Linked DNA regions of Homo sapiens: regions 2 and 3 are each linked to region 1. The links are contacts of gene promoters, found by promoter capture Hi-C in blood cells and fetal thymus (Javierre and others, 2016). All regions are on one chromosome and are shown on one strand. Each heading gives the region's core, a stretch centred on a gene start or on the middle of the fragment in contact. The rest is flanking DNA. Distances are from core to core; before and after follow the strand shown.

Evidence for each region. The method cuts DNA at HindIII sites, captures the fragments that hold promoters and counts their contacts. A CHiCAGO score of 5 or more calls a contact.
Region 2: a contact is called between a fragment that was not itself captured here and the fragment with the promoter of CLASP1-AS1 in region 1, in 4 of 17 cell types (naive CD8 T cells, endothelial precursors, total CD4 T cells and 1 more). The highest score is 7.7, in naive CD8 T cells.
Region 3: a contact is called between a fragment that was not itself captured here and the fragment with the promoter of CLASP1-AS1 in region 1, in 6 of 17 cell types (total CD8 T cells, naive CD8 T cells, naive B cells and 3 more). The highest score is 8.5, in total CD8 T cells.

What each region holds. Positions count from the first base shown.
Region 1 is chr2:121,528,798-121,531,473 of GRCh38, reverse strand. It overlaps CLASP1-AS1 (CLASP1 antisense RNA 1), which reads right to left and starts at 1,306. Exons shown (of 2, transcript XR_001739683.2): 1 at 699-1,306. CLASP1 (cytoplasmic linker associated protein 1) reads left to right here. Exons shown (of 41, transcript NM_001395891.1): 3 at 1,149-1,227. RNU4ATAC (RNA, U4atac small nuclear) reads right to left here and starts at 594; the gene lies at 465-594. RefSeq lists an enhancer at 917-1,046 and a silencer at 1,237-1,436. The HindIII fragment of the contact is 3,511 bases long and covers 1-2,040 here.
Region 2 is chr2:121,392,057-121,394,732 of GRCh38, reverse strand. All of the region lies in intron 31 of CLASP1 (cytoplasmic linker associated protein 1), which reads left to right. Among named protein-coding and RNA genes, the nearest start is that of TFCP2L1, 110 kb to the right of the region's middle. The HindIII fragment of the contact is 4,518 bases long and covers 1-2,676 here.
Region 3 is chr2:121,668,663-121,671,338 of GRCh38, reverse strand. All of the region lies in intron 2 of NIFK-AS1 (NIFK antisense RNA 1), which reads right to left. Among named protein-coding and RNA genes, the nearest start is that of NIFK-AS1, 20 kb to the right of the region's middle. The HindIII fragment of the contact is 565 bases long and covers 1,033-1,597 here.

The DNA.
Region 1 (2,676 bases), core at 57-2,556:
ACAGGCGCCGGCCACCTCGCCCGGCTAATTTTTTGTATTTTTAGGAGAGACGGAGTTTCACTGTGTTAGCCAGGATGGTCTCGATCTCCTGACCTCGTGATCCGCCCCCCTCGGCCTCCCAAAGTGCTGGGATTGCAGGCGTGAGCCACCGCGCCCGACCTGGATTACATTTTATGTGAGGTGCAAAGACCTACTGAAACTTCGTCTCCTATTGAAACTTGACCTAGACTACTGGGCTGACTCAGCATAAGGAAGTTACAGAACAGTTGATGATCGGCGTAAAGTTAAAGGGGTGAAGTTCTGTTGAAATCCTTCCCGTTTAATCACCGCAAAAACTGAAAGAACTTTACTTGCGACACTAAAACCACGCGTCTTGTGCACCCTCTACTGGTTTAACCACAAAGTACTAGTTTATTTACGAATTACTGCTGTTTGAACTGATAAGTCTATGAAAACAGGTTTTCATTTTTCCAAAAATTGCACCAAAATAAAGCAAAAGCTCTAGTTGATGCGGGTGTGTTGTTCAGGCGTTAGCAGTACTGCCCTCACTATGCGCTCATTGGACAGTAGCGCAACCCCAAGAAAAGGATGGTTATAATAGAAAGTCCCTGGGCTGCAAGCAGGAAGCGCCAATACCTGGTAGGGTTGTGGTAATTAATTCGTGAGCCTCGCCCTAGTCGGTCTGGTAGCTAGCTTACCTCCAGCCTCCACAGCTTTCGACGACACCCCAATTCTTTGTTTTCTGAGGCTCCCGAAGGGTCGCAAAAGCGGCGGCTCGGTTTTACCCAGAAGACCGCGCGTCGGCCGCTCGAAAATTTGCATACGCTTTTCTCGCCGGGGCGGGGCTGGCGGGGGCGGGACCGCGGCGCGCTCTTGAACTCCACCCGCAGCTAACCCGGGTTTGGCTACGCTGTATTGCCTTTTATTTCGTTTCTCCTCACCGAGTATTTTCCATTATAGCTGTACATAGCTCTTTTTGTGGAAGATCATCCTTCTTCGTGCTAATCTCTTTGGTCCTCCAGTCGGCATGCGTCTGGACTCTCGGACTGCGTCTGGGCCGGAAATGTCTAGGCCTCCCCGGAGCGGGTGGGCGGGAGCGCTGCCCCGCAGGCCGGCTGCTAACAGGCTCCCGGTGTTTCCCGCTGCAGGTGGTTCTGCTGGGCATGGACATCCTGTCCGCCCTGGTGACCCGGCTGCAGGATCGGTTCAAGGCGCAGATCGGCACAGGTGAGCTGCGGCACTTGTGGAGCGGACCCGGCCCCTTCAGACCCCCAGCCTTCCCTCGGCCTCCCCGGCTCCCAAACCCTCCCGGCAGCCACCCTGCCTCCCCTCCAGCCCCCTCTCCCTCCCTTCCGCTCCTCCCAAACAGCCAGTCCCCGCCCTCCCCCGCAGCCCCCCTAAGCACTCGCAGCCTGGGTCGGCCGCCCCGCTGCCTTCCCTTCCAGCTGGACTCCCCTGGCCTCTGGGCCTGCGGGCGCCCTTACCCTCCCCCATACCTTTGTACTGGCTTCACTGTGTTCTCACACGGAACTTAGTAATACGTGTTCTAATATGAAATATTAGTGCCATTTTTATTTCTTATGCTAAATTAGCTGTCACTCTTTAGTGCCAACCAAGTCATATTTTACCCTGACCCCGGTCCCCTTTAATGAGAGGCAGTTTTCCTTGAGAAATCCTATAAAACCAAGCCAGTTGTATTTTTCTCCAGATGATTATGGTTGGCATGACTATTTTCACCTTGATTGTAAATGTCATTACAAATGTATAGTAAATGTTCACTCTTATTTTGAAGGGAAAACAGTATGTCAGCAAAATGAAACAAAACCCACAGATTTCATAGATTTAAATACCTCTAAATTCCTGACCTCCGGTGTTTCATGGGGGTAGTATAAACACTAAGCATCTCTATGCAACCATTTCCTTATGGAATTTCTCTGTTTTACGTTGGTACACATGTATTCTTTACTGTTAACTTTCCGACCAATATGCTCCTTCTGAAAAGGTCATGAGCACCGACTGTTTACAAATTTAAAAAAAGCTTTTACTTTTAGACATTTGATATTTTAATAGTGTTCCATTTTCCTCCTAAATTAGCTGAATTATTCAGGGATATCTCATGTAATAGAGGTTTACAAACTCTTAAAATAAGCTGATCTCTGGTCTACAGGTGCACTTGGACCACTGGTGGGAGGGTCCACCCTGGGTATGTCGGGGAAGATGGAGAGCTGGGCTCTGTCTCATGTGTGTATGGGCGTGATGTAAAACTAAAAATACACAATAGTGATGAAACTTAAGATTTATTCATAAGTGCCCACTCCTTCCACCCCCAAACACATATACTGGAGCCCCTCTCCTTGTGTTTTACCTAAATTTTCCTTTCTGTTGACTCTTCCTCTCAAGGTCTTCCATTTTTATCAGCTTACAAATACGTTGGGAACTGGCTGGAGGAACGTGGGGTAAGGAGGAAGACAAATAGTGTATCTGTCCATGCAAAGGATTTTGCAGACTCTTTTGGTGACTTTCATGGACTTCAGCAAGGAGAGTAGAGCTGTGAGCAAAGATGAGTGGTTTTAGAATGAGATACATCATTTAGGTCAGGGGTTTGTCTTCCCACATAATTGAGATAGGAATACTTGGTGACCACAGACCCCCAAATAGGGTTTCATTTGATCAGTT
Region 2 (2,676 bases), core at 74-2,573, 140 kb after region 1:
AATTTTTGTATTTTTAGTAGAGAAGGGGTTTCACCATGTTGGTCAGGCTGGTCTCGAACTCCTGACCTCGTGATCCGCCCACCTTGGCCTCCCAAAGTGCTGGGATTACAGGCGTGAGCCACTGCGCCCAGCCAAGATTTTTTAATAAAAGGATTCACACCTAGACACATAACATCTAATTGCTGAAAGCCAAAGAGAGAATCCTGAAAGCAGCAAGAGGGGAGAAACTCATCCCATGCACAAGTTCCTCAATAAGATTAACAGCTCATTTCTCTTCAGAAACCACAAAGGACAGAAGGCAGTGGATGACATTGAAGGTACTGAAAGAAAGAAAGCGCTCAGCCAAGAATTCACTGTTTGGCAAAACTCTTCTTCAGAAATGGAGAAATTAAAACAAAACCAGCCATAGAATCTCTCTCATTTTGAATCTCTCTGATGCCTTTTAAGGGCTTGCCTGATGAGGTCAGGCCCATCCAGGATAATCTCCCTTTGGATTAACTCAAAGTCAACTGATTAAGGGCCTCAATTACATTTTTGAAAATCACTTCTGCCGTGTAACACAATCATGGGAGTGATATCCATTATATTCACAAGTCCCGCTCACTCTAAGGGTGGGAGAGGTTATATAGGGTGTAATACGTTATGGGGAATCTTAGGGGCCGTCTTAGTGTCTTGACTACCAGGGCTTTAGTGTCTCTTTTAGGGGGTTGGCAGAAGGCTTCCATAGTTATTCGATAATTCCTTGGCTCTTATTTTAGAAGGGCGCTTTTTTACCTATCTATGCAAATTATGATGTGGTTCAACTTACTTAGCAGATGCATGTCTGTATTCTGGCACCCTCTGGATTTTTTTTTTTTTTTTAATCATCCAAGATATCCGTGGCTCTAAACTATTTGGCTTTCAGTAACATTCAGCACTAACTAGTAAAGCATTACTTTTGATTCAAATAGATGTATCATAGGACAGTATTAAAATAGATGTCCTCAAACTCTACATTAGGGCACTGCAGATTAATCCTTTTTGGAGGTAGATTCACTTTTATTTAAATTCCCTGTTTTGATGTAGCATCCGTTGAACATTTATAAATATAGTTGCTTTTGTAAGTGATGCAGCTGCCTTACCCAAGAATATGAGACGTTCTTGAAGCACTGTCAAAATGAAGGTAGTGCCTAAATAAATTAAAATACTTAGAATTGTGATGTAGTATTTATCACTACTCTAAGATCTAAAATTGATAAGATTTAAAATTATTTTAAACTGTATGAAAACTAGTACCATTCTTATCTAGATCATTTAACACACTAAACATAAAATACATGTCTGTATAAATAAACTTTGTTCTGCCTCATCCTTCATTTCCAGAGTTTTTTAAAGGTTATATCAGGGATTGAGGAAATCTTGGTGATTTAAAAGCGTTTTGTGATCTTAAACCAAGTTCTTCTGTGAATGTCCTGCTTTAATTTTTTTAGGGTAGGTATTCCAAATACAGAAGAGCCCTTCAGTCTGAAATTTATACAGTAAATTCTCATATTAGACTCATCTCTGGAGAATATTTTATGTAAACAGTACCTGGGGACTTTTCAGACAACATAATTCATTCTCTAAGTCCATACAACCATGTTTGTGAAAGCACTTTTGAAGCATTTTAAACTTATAACAAGCTGATATAACCCAGATTAATTGATTTTAGCATTTTTAATATTTTGTTTTCCTTAGCTCAGTATATTGGGGTGTTTCACATTTTGGAGGGAGGGGTGCTTAAATTGTTAAGGTGTTTTTAAAATCAAAACACGAACGAATCACCAGTGAGTGAGGTGTGCTTACCACACTGAGACTGGTTTGGGCAAGGTGAAAAAGCCCAACCCAGTCTGTAACTAGCCTGCTTTATTCCAAAAGTAAACTTTTCCATTTTCTCAGTGTGGGAGCCCTGACTAGTTTAGTTGTGTGATGAAACTATGCAGACGTACACTAGACCTTTCTTAATGCACTGTGTTGATGTAAGATAATAGTATATATTACTGATAGAAAGAAGGTGGGTTCTGGAGTTTGACATCCATTTGACATCTGCCTCTGCCACTCATTGGGGTCAGAGCAAGTAATTTAATCCCTGAGTTCTTGTTTATTATCTGTAAAATCGGAATAATAATACTTGCCTCAAACTGGGCATGGTGGCGCATGCTTGTAGTTCCAGCCTCATGGGAGGCTGAGGCAGGAGGATTGCTTGCAGCCACAGGAAGAGTCCTATCTCTATACATAAATAACACTTATCTCAGGCATTACTGAGAAGATTAAATTTCATAAAGTATATTAAAACTTAGACATTTTATTTGCAGTTGCAGCTCTGCTATTATTGTTTGAGGATTGTTTTGGTTTTGCTGCTGCTGTTATTTATGGAATAAACTGAGTACCAGAATTTTTTCTAAGATTTAGGAAGCCAGGTGATCAATCAAAGGGAATGTGGTAATGGCAGTAGAATTTTAATTATATGTTTACATTTTGGAATTTAAAATGCCTGTATGTTTGCTTATCACATGTGACTCTCTTTGTCAAATGAAGCAACAGATTTAGCCCCCAAACCTTGTTTTGAGAAGTGTGGGCAAAAAGGCGTGGCGAAGAAACCTAGAAGTATAAAGATGCTGTTGGCTAGAGCAGGGAGAAGTATTAATACATAAATTG
Region 3 (2,676 bases), core at 66-2,565, 140 kb before region 1:
CCCAGGTTGGTGGGCAGTTGCATGATCTTGGCTCACTGCAACCTCTACCTCCTATGTTCAAGTGATCCTTCCACCTCAGCATCCTGAGTAGCTGGGACCAAAGGGATGTACCACCAAGCCAGGCTAATTTTTGTTTTTGTTTTAGTACAGACAGGGTTTTGCCATGTTGGCCAGGCTGGTCTCAAACTCCTGGCCTCAAGTGACCTGCCTTGGCTTCCCGAAGTGCTCGGATTACAAGCGTGAGCCACCGCACCTGGCTTGATTTTTACATTTCTTTAAGTTGGTTTTCACCTTTCTCTAGTATCTCCTTCAGTAGCTTAATAATCAACCTTCTGACTTCTTTATGTGGCAATTCAGAGATTCCTTCTGGGTTTGGATCCATTGCTAGGAAGCTAGTGTGGTCTTTTGTGGGTGTTATAGAACCTTGTTTTGTCATATTACCTGAATTATGTTTTTGATTTCTTCTTATTGGGTAGACTATTTTAGTGGAAAAATCTGGAACTCAAGGGCTGCTGTTCAGATTCTTTTGTCTCACAGGGTGATCCCGTGATGTGGTGCACTCCCCCTTTCCTTAGGGATGGGGCTTTCTGAGAGCCAGACTGTGGTGATTGTTATTGCTTTTCTGGGTCTAGGCATCCAGTGGGGCTTCCAAGCTCCAGGATCATGCTGGGGAGTGTCTGCAAAGAGTGTTGTGATGTAATCCATCTTCAGGTCTCCCAGCTATGGATACCAGCACCTCCTCTGGGGGAGGTGGCAGGGTAGTGACATAGACTCTATGAGAAGCCTTGGTTGTAGATGTTTAGTGTGCTGGCTTTCTCAAATGCTGGTTATGATAGCAGTGATGTTGCCACATGGACAGGACCTCTGTTTAGCCAGGATGTTGCAGATAGTGGAGTTAGCTGTTTTTTCCTTCCTTGGAGCAGTGTTATTTTGTCATGAGTTGCTGTCATATCTTGAGTTGGTTGGCCTCCAGCCAGGAGGTGGTATGTTCAGGAGAGCACCAGCTGTGATAGTAGAAGGGGGATATAAGCTTGCCCTAAGTTGGTCAGGATAAGTGTTCAGGTTTCTCATGTGATAAGTAGGGCCATAAAGCTCCCAAGAGTTTGTCTTTTGTGACTGGGCACTGGGATGGGTAGGGAAATACCATCAGGTTGGGGCAGGATTAGGCAGGTCTGAGCTCAGACTCTTTTTGCCACAGCCACTGTGGGGGATAGGGGGCTGATTCTCAGGCAAATGGGGTTATGTTCCAGTGTGGATTATGGCGCCTCTGTCACCAGGGAAGTGGGGGAAAGTAAGTAGCCACAGGGCTCACCCAGCTACCACACAGTTGGCAAGGCCAGTTTCACTCCCACTGTGCCCCGCTAACAGCACAGTTTATCTCCAGGCAGCTGGTGTGCAGGACTCAGACCTAGCCCCAGGGTATAAGTTTCCCCACTAAGAAAGCAAGCATGGCTTTCAGGCCTTGCCCCTCCCTGTCTGCCCACACTGTCAGCTGTGGCTCCTATGCTCCTTTCTGCAGCAGTTCACTTTCACCCCCGATTTCTGCTCGACAGAGTTTGCGCCCAGTCAAAATTATTACACAGTTCAGTTGGAAGCTTATTTCACCCTGCGACCCTGCCCAAATTCTGCCAACTGTCTTCCTCAATGGCCTCGGTGAGATACAGTCAGGGATGGCTTCCCTGGCCCAAGCTGGAGAATGGGAGCGCCTACAAGGCTCTTCCTGCTACTATTTCTACTTTTATATTTTATACTAAATCCATTTCAGCTCTAGGCAAGGTTAAATCCTTCTTCCATAATCTGGGTTTTGAGGTTCCCCAGTGGAGATGTGTGTTCAGAGGCAGGTTTCCCCCTTCTCACATGTTGGGAACTCATAGTTTTTCACCCATCTCATGGAATTTGCAGCAGTGTGCTGTGAGGCCGAGGTGGGAGGATCACTTGAGCCCAGCAGTTTGAGACCAGCCTGGGCAACATGGCAAGACCCAGTCTTGGTCTGTACAAAAAATTAAATAATAGCTGGGCATGGTGGCATATGTCTGTAATCCTAGCTATCAGGAGGCTGAGGCAGGAGCATCACTTGAGCCCAGGAGTTTGAAGCTGCAGTGAGCTATTGTTGTGTCAGAGTACTCCAGCCTGGGTGACAGAGCAAGACCCTGTTTCTAAATAAATAGACTATTTTTTAAAGCAGTTTTAGTTTCATGTAGATTTCTACATATGGTGTGAGGCAAGGGGTCTAACTTCATTCTTTTGCATGTAGCTATCCAGTTGTCCTAGAGCCATTTGTTGAAAGGATGTTTGTTTCTCACCGAATTGGCACCCTGGTTGAAAATCAATTCAACACAGATGTATGGGTTTATTTATAAACTCTTAATTCTATTCCATTGGTCAATATGTCTATATGTAGGCCAATACCATGCCGTTTTGATTATTTTGGGTTTGTAGTAAGTTTTGATTATTGTAGCTTTGAAATTAGAAAGTGTGAGTCCTCCAGGAACTTTGTTATTTTTTTTTTCCAAAATAGTTTGGCTTTTCTTGGTCTCTTGCATTTCCATATTAATTGTAGGATTAGTTTGTCAATTTGTACAAAGAAGCTGGCTGGGATTTTGTTTGGTCTTCTTTAACTTCTTTCAACAGTTTTCAGTGTACAAGTCTTGTACTTCTTTTGCTAAATCTATTCCT